Linked DNA regions of Homo sapiens: region 1 is linked to region 2. The links are contacts of gene promoters, found by promoter capture Hi-C in blood cells and fetal thymus (Javierre and others, 2016). All regions are on one chromosome and are shown on one strand. Each heading gives the region's core, a stretch centred on a gene start or on the middle of the fragment in contact. The rest is flanking DNA. Distances are from core to core; before and after follow the strand shown. Region 1 overlaps RXYLT1 (ribitol xylosyltransferase 1). Region 2 holds the start of MON2 (MON2 regulator of endosome-to-Golgi trafficking).

Region 1 (3,648 bases), core at 416-2,915, 1.3 Mb before region 2:
TTCTGATTCACTTTTGGTCAAACAAGGATGGTGAATGTGTGGAAACACTTAAGTTAGTACCCATGTAGTTGTTTCAACTGAAGACTTACAATTGCATAAAAGTTTATTAATTTTGGATAAATTATGTACGCTACTTTTCATGAACCTAACACTTTAATAAGCTGTTTAAAAAAAATCTCATACAATGGTGACCTTTCTTGAATATAGTTCTCTTAAATCCTAAGAGGAAACGGTATTACTCTTTGGCCATAATACCAGCACACCTCATTTTATTGTGCTTCACTTTATTGTACTTTGCAAATAAAGAGTTTTTTACAAATTGAAAGTTTGTGGTGATCCCCAGTCAAGCAATTCTATTGGTACCATTTTCCAACAGCATGTGCTCACTATGAGATGGTGATATGGTTTGGCTGTGTCCCCACCCAAATCTCATCTTGAACTGTAGCTCCCACAATTCCCACATGTTGTGGGAGGTGCCCGGTGGGAAGTAATTGAATCATGGGGGCAGGTCTTTCTTGTACTGTTCTCATGATAGTGAATAAGTCTCACAAGATCTGATGGCAAACTTAATAGATAAATGCTATGTGTGTGGTCTAACTGCTCCACCAACCAGTATTCCCCCATTTCTCCCCATCTCCTTGGGCCTCCCTATTCCCTGAGACACAACACTATTAGGCCAATTATTAACCCTATAATGCCCTCTAAGTGTTCCCTATAATTAATAACCCTATAATGAATGCCCTCTAGGTGAAAGGAAGAGTCGCAAGTCTCTCACTTTCAGGAGTGTCCAAGGGAGAGAATATAGGCATGGATTCTTAGTTTCTGTTTCTGGTTGGGCCAGTAAAACCCCTTCCTTATCCCTCTTTTCTGCTTATTACTAAAGACAGAAACTAAAAGCCATGGCTTCAGGCTGCTAAAAGCCTAAGACAAAACAAAACAGAACAACAACAATAAAATAAGGTGGGTTGGAGAAGCTTGCAACCAAAAGCTAGAAATAGTTAAGCTTAGTGAGGAAGGCATGTCAAAAGCTGAGGCAAGCTAAAAGCTAGGCCTCTTATGCCAAACAGTCAAGGTGGGAATGCAAAGGAAAAGTTCTTGAAGGAAATGAAAAGTGCTACTCCAGTGAACAACATGAATGATGTGAAGGTGAAATAGTCTTATTGCTCATATGGAGAAAGGTTTAATAGTCTGGATAGAGGATCAAACCAGCCACAACATTCCCTTAAGCCAAAGCCTAATCCAGAGCAAGGCCTCCACTCTTTTCAATTCTATGAAGGTTGAGAAAGGTGAGGAAGCTGCAGGAGAAAAGTCTGACGTTGCCAGAGGTTGATTCATGAGGTTTAAGGAAAGAAGCCATCTCCATAACATAAAAATGCAAGGTGAAGCAGCAAGTACTAATGTAGAAGCTGCATCAAGTTATCCAGAAGATTTAGCTAAGATCATTGATGAAGGTGGCTACACTAGACAACAGATTTTCAATGCAGATGAAACAGCTTTATATCAGCAGAAGATGACATCTAGGACTTTCATAGCTAGAGAGAAGTCAATGCCTGGCTTCAAAGCTTCAAAGGACAGGCTGATTCTCTTATCAGGGACTAAATGTAGCTGGGTGACTTTAAGTTGAAGCCAATGCTCATTTATCATTCTGAAAATCCTAGGACCTTTAAAACTATCCTAAATCTACTCTGCCTGTGCCCTATAAATGGAAAAAAGCCTAGATGACAGCAACATCTGTTCACAGCATGGTTTACTGAATATTTTAAGCTTACTATTGAGAAGTACTGCTCAGAAAAAAGGATTCCTTTCAAAATATTACTGCTCATTGACAATGCACCTGGTCACCCAAGAGATCTGATGGAGATGTACAGGAGATTCATGTCCTCATACCTGCTAACAAAATATCTATTCTGCAGCCCATGGATCAAGGAGTAATTTTGACTTTCAAGTCTTATTTAAGAAATACTTTTTGGCCAGACACGATGGCTCACGCCCGTAATCCTAGCACTTTGGGAGGCTGAAGCGGGTGGATCACTTGGGGACAGGAGTCCGAGACAGGAGACCTGGCCAACATGGTGAAACCCCATCTCCACTAAAAATACAAAAATTAGCTGGGTGTGGTGGCGTATGCCCATAGTCCCAGCTACTTGGGATGTTGAAGCACGAGAATCACTTGAACCCAGGGGCGCAAGTTGCAGGAAGCTGAGATTACGCTACTGCCCTCCAGCCTGGATGACAGAACAAGACTCTGTCTCAAAAAAAAAACAACAAACAACAACAACAAAAGAAATACTTTTCATAAGGCTATAGCTGCCACAGACAGTGGTTCCTCTGATGGATCTGGGCAAAGTAAATGAAAACCTTCTGGAGATGATTCATTATTCTAGATACCATGAACATTCATGATTCATGGGACGAGGTCAAAACATCAACATTAAAAGGAATTTGGAAGAAGCTGATTTAAACCCTCATGGATGACTTTGAGGGGTTCGAGATTTAAGTGGAGGAAGTCACTGAAGATGTGGTAGAAATGGAAAGAAAAGTAGAATTAGAAGTGGAACCTGAAGGTGTGACTGAATTGCTTCAATCTCATGATAAAACTTCAACAGATGAGGAGTTGCTTTTTATGAATGAGCAGAGAAAGTGGTTTCCTGAGATGGAATCTACTTCTGGTGAAGATACAATGTTGTGAACATTGGTGAAGTGACAATAAAGGATTCAGAATATTCCAAAAATGTAGTTGATAAAGCAGCAGTAGGGTTTGAGAGGACTGGCTCCAATTTTTTTTTTTCTTTGACTCATTCTGTCGCCCGGGGTTGGAGGGCAGTGGCATGATCTTACCTCACTGCATCCTCTGACTCCCAGGTTCAAGGATTCTTTTGCCTCAGCCTCCCAAGTAGCTGGGATTACAGGTGTGTGCTGCCACTTGCAGCCAATTTTTGTATCTTTAGTAGAGACGGGGTTTCACGATGATAGCCAGGTTGGTCTCGAACTCCTGACCTCAAGTGATCCAGCTACCTCAGCCTCCCAAAGTACTGGGATTACAGGCATGAGCCACTGCATCCGGCCTAGGATTGACTCCAATTTTGAAAGAAGTTCTATGGGTAAAAATGCCACCAAATAGCATCATGTGCTACAGAGAAAACTTTTGTGAAGGAAGAGTCAACTGATGTGGCAAACTTCATTGTTGTCTTATTTTAAGAAATTGTCACAGCCACCCCAGCCTTCAGCAACCACCACCCTGATTAGTCATCAATACACTGATTAGACATCAACATCGAGGCAAGACCCTCCACCAGCAAAAAGATGACTTGCTGATGGGTCAGATAACTGTTAGCATTTTTTAGCAATAAAGTATTTTTCACTTAAGGTACGTATTTTTTTTTTTTAGGCATAATACTATTACACACTTAATAGACTGTAGTACAGTGTAAACATAACTTTCATATGTACTGGATAATAAAAAAATTCATATGACTTGCTTTATTGCAGTATTTGCTTGACTGCAGTGGTGTGGAACTGAACACGCAGTATCTCTAGAGGATGCCTGTAAAATCTCCCACAAATATTTCAGAAGTAAAGGATACATTTGGCTTTCTTTTGGGAGTTAATGTTCTTTGCTCAAATCTTTCACTATTATTATAGTAACAA
Region 2 (3,476 bases), core at 842-3,341:
CTAGACCACAACAGCCTATAGAGGAACCACAGTTTTTGTATGAATTATTAGAACTGCGAAGTCAGTTCTACAAATTATTGTTGAAATTACAAAATAGTGTTTGATATTTTCTAAATGAGAGCATTTCTCTTATAATTAAAACAACTTAATTCTTTAAAATTCTCTAAAACAGCCTAATTCTTTAGATTTACTTGTTATAACTTTCAACAGAGGATATAAAAAAAATGAAAATCAATATCAAAACAGACTATTGACTATGTGAAATAAAACATATCGTAACAGCCATCTTTCCAAAAGTGGCACATCTGGTTTCCATCACTGGGTAATACTTTATTAAAGAAATACAAGATGGAGTTTGTTGAAAACTGATAAAACCAATGCACTTACAGAAAAGTCAATATTCCTTACAAGCCTAAAATCCAAAATTTATTGGTCAAGTTCTAATTACATAATCTTCATAATAATAAAGATATATTTAAATAAGTATGTAAATATGAAATCCCTCGGTGAATTTTTAGGGCAAAGAGTAAATGAAATTGCAGGTAAAACAAACTACATTAAATAGGAATAAAAATAAAAACAGCCGGGCGCTGTGGCTCACGCCTGTAATCCCAGCACTTTGGGAGGCCGAGGCAGGGGGATCATCTGAAGTCGGGAGTTCGAGACCCGCCTGACCAACATGGAGAAACCCTGTTTCTACTAAAAATACAAAATTAGCCGGGCCTGTTTTTGGTGGGTTTTTTTGTTTGTTTTTTTTTTTTAGAGAATTAAAATGGCATTTTAAGAGAAAAAGCAAATAGTAACCAAATGTTAAATATTTCACCTCAAGAACTATTTGGAGAATTAAATTTCCATGTATTATTTACTGGGATCTCTTTAATAATACCCTTCTGCTCTGACATCTTTCCCATACATAATATAAAACCATCCTTTAACCCTATTTTACAGCTGGAAAAAAAAACCCGAAGCTCAAAGAGGTTAAGATTTATTGCTGGAACTAAATTCAGGTGTATTCGCTCTGACTGCAAGCCCAACTTCCCACTACAGTACTGCTCATAACAAGGTTTAACATGATTATGTGGATCTTCAATATTCTTCATAAATTAGGTGGCTCTGGATAGTTTATTAACACGTCAAAGGATTGATACAGAGTTAAGCTGAATGATATATACCAGAAGGAAAATTGTTTCCAATTCAGTGATATGCCATAAACGTGAGGAGTACAGGTTTCAACAAGATGGGTGGATACTCGTTTCGGGGAGCAACAAACAAGTTTTTCAATTTTGGTTTGGCCAGTTTCAAGTAAGAAAAAGGCCAGAATAGGCTAGTGCACAGTACACCTAGCTGGATTAACTGAATAGGCTCACTTCATGAACTTCACTCCTAAACTGGGAGGACAGGAGAGGGGAGAAAATCAAAGTGCCTCAGCCCTCTCCAGTGGAAACTATAAAAAGCCCTTGTGGAACAACCCACCGACTCACAAATCTGGAAAGGTGAGGCCTGAATGAAAATTAGGACTGGAAACTGGGGTGAAGCACTGAGTCTAACAGGACCAGGCATGCTCACAGTGCCTTCTCCTGACGTCACCTGAAGCTTACCTCTTTGACAGGTGGGAATTTCTTCTTGCACTCCAGTGACAAGGCGCGCAAGTCGCTCTGCATATTCTCCAGCAGCTTCTTCACCGCCTCGGGGCTGCTGGTGCCGGACATGATCCTCCAAGGTCCCAGCCAATTTCCGAGAGGTACAAACAAGCTCTGGCACGGTCAGCTCCTTAGGGCCACAGGCAGCTCCCTCCCGGTGTCTCTGGTCCTTCAGCAGCCCGCTTCTTGGGCCCTGGGCTGCGAACCCGGAGCCTGCTCGAGCGTCCCCCAGCAGCTTCCCCGCAACACCTCTGGCTTTTCTCGGAGGCGCCCCCCGCAGTCGCACCGTCCCGCTAGGCTCCGCCGACTCTGGCCGAGAAACCCACAAGGCGGGCAGGTCCCTCCGCTGCCGCGGGGCCCAGCCACACCGGGTGTCACCAGCCAACCTGGCAAGAAGCTTCAGCGCCAGCTCCCCAGGCCCCTAAGACTCGCCGACGCCATTAGCCGAGTCGCCCACAATTCCGAGCGCTGCCGGGACACGTCAGCCGCACTTCCGGGTACCGTGGCCTCCGCCACCGCCGCGGCCAACCCCGGCGGCAGGCCGTCGGCGGGGCGGGGCTGGGGCTTGGCCATGCTCGGGGCAGGCGGGATTCCGGGTGGGCAGCGATTCCCACAGCCCCACCCCCGGAATCAAGTAGGCTAGACAGGGTTTAAGGCGTCAAGATTCGCTTCGTTTTCATTAACAAGTGCCTGAACAGAGCCCCCGAGTACTCCTTGGCATATCTCTTTGCGTATGTTTGTGTTAAATTGTATTTCGGTGTAAATAATTTGTTTCCCTGTAGATTAATCTTAACGTGTCTCCTCCCGCTTCATTTCGAATCTCTGGACTAGTGGCCCCAAATCAGTGGCTACCTCCTGTTAATATACATTTTTTTTCTTTAAACGCAACTGGTGCACTTACTGTGGGGTAGCCTCTTATTTTCCTAATCTCTAAAATGAGACTACCCTCTGCTCCACGCATTCCGCTGGCCTCCCATCTCACTCAAAGTAAAAGCCAAAATTCCTCCAATCACCTACCAGGCGCTACGAGATCTGTCCCGGCCCCTTTACTGGCAGATGCTCCCAGCTAAAAGGAGAGTTTCGCGAGTTGGGCTGCCGGTTCTTCCTCTTTTTAAATCTTATTTTGTTTCCTGTGTATCTCCAGCACCTAGAACAGTGTCTGGCATATAGCAGGTAATCAGTACATACTTGTTGAATGAATACCCTTCTATTATAAAATCAGAGTTTCGAGGCTCAAATAAGGCACAGATACATAAAAGCCTTCATCAGGTCTGAAGTGCCAAATAAATATGAGGCAAAAGCCAAACAGAAAAATCTTCATCTGTATTTCCCCAAGATCCAGGTTGGTCTACTTTTTCCCCAAGACATTTTGCAGCTGCTGGTCAGAAAGCAGAAAATGAGGGAGGAAAAACCAGAAACAGTAGAGATGAAGAAACCAACACCTTCAGACAGCTGAGCTTATGACATGATGGAAGACAGTGAGCCATGAGATTGTCAGTGGATAGCGCTGTTTGGCTGTAACAGAGCTACTTTGTAAGCTAAATAATTTTATTTTATTTTTCCTTCTGATAAGAAGCAAAGCAAGGATGGATAAAGGGGACAGATGAGGTAATAGTAGAGAGCTCCTAGGGCAGTAATTTTGATCATTTGTGCCTATTACACAACTTCTGGGAAACTTGACACCTCCTATGGTATAAGCTTTATGTATGAAAACTGGTGAATTTAGCAAAAAAGTTCAAATGGAATATATGGCAGACATTATTCTTGAGGTCTCAGGGAGCTTGTAAAAACGAGGCGCTTTTTTTGGGTGGGGGGTGGAGACGGAGTCTCACTCTG

Evidence for each region. Contacts are between HindIII fragments. The CHiCAGO score rates a contact against its expected background, and 5 or more counts as called.
Region 1: a contact is called between a fragment that was not itself captured here and the fragment with the promoter of MON2 in region 2, in 1 of 17 cell types (total CD8 T cells). The highest score is 5.7, in total CD8 T cells.

What each region holds. Positions count from the first base shown.
Region 1 is chr12:63,786,250-63,789,897 of GRCh38, reverse strand. All of the region lies in intron 3 of RXYLT1 (ribitol xylosyltransferase 1), which reads right to left. Among named protein-coding and RNA genes, the nearest start is that of RXYLT1, 8.2 kb to the right of the region's middle. The HindIII fragment of the contact is 202 bases long and covers 1,565-1,766 here.
Region 2 is chr12:62,465,441-62,468,916 of GRCh38, reverse strand. It overlaps MON2 (MON2 regulator of endosome-to-Golgi trafficking), which reads right to left and starts at 2,091. Exons shown (of 35, transcript NM_015026.3): 1 at 1,599-2,091. The coding sequence starts at 1,709. RefSeq lists enhancers at 1,435-1,934, 1,930-2,039 and a silencer at 2,070-2,389. The HindIII fragment of the contact is 1,301 bases long and covers 2,040-3,340 here.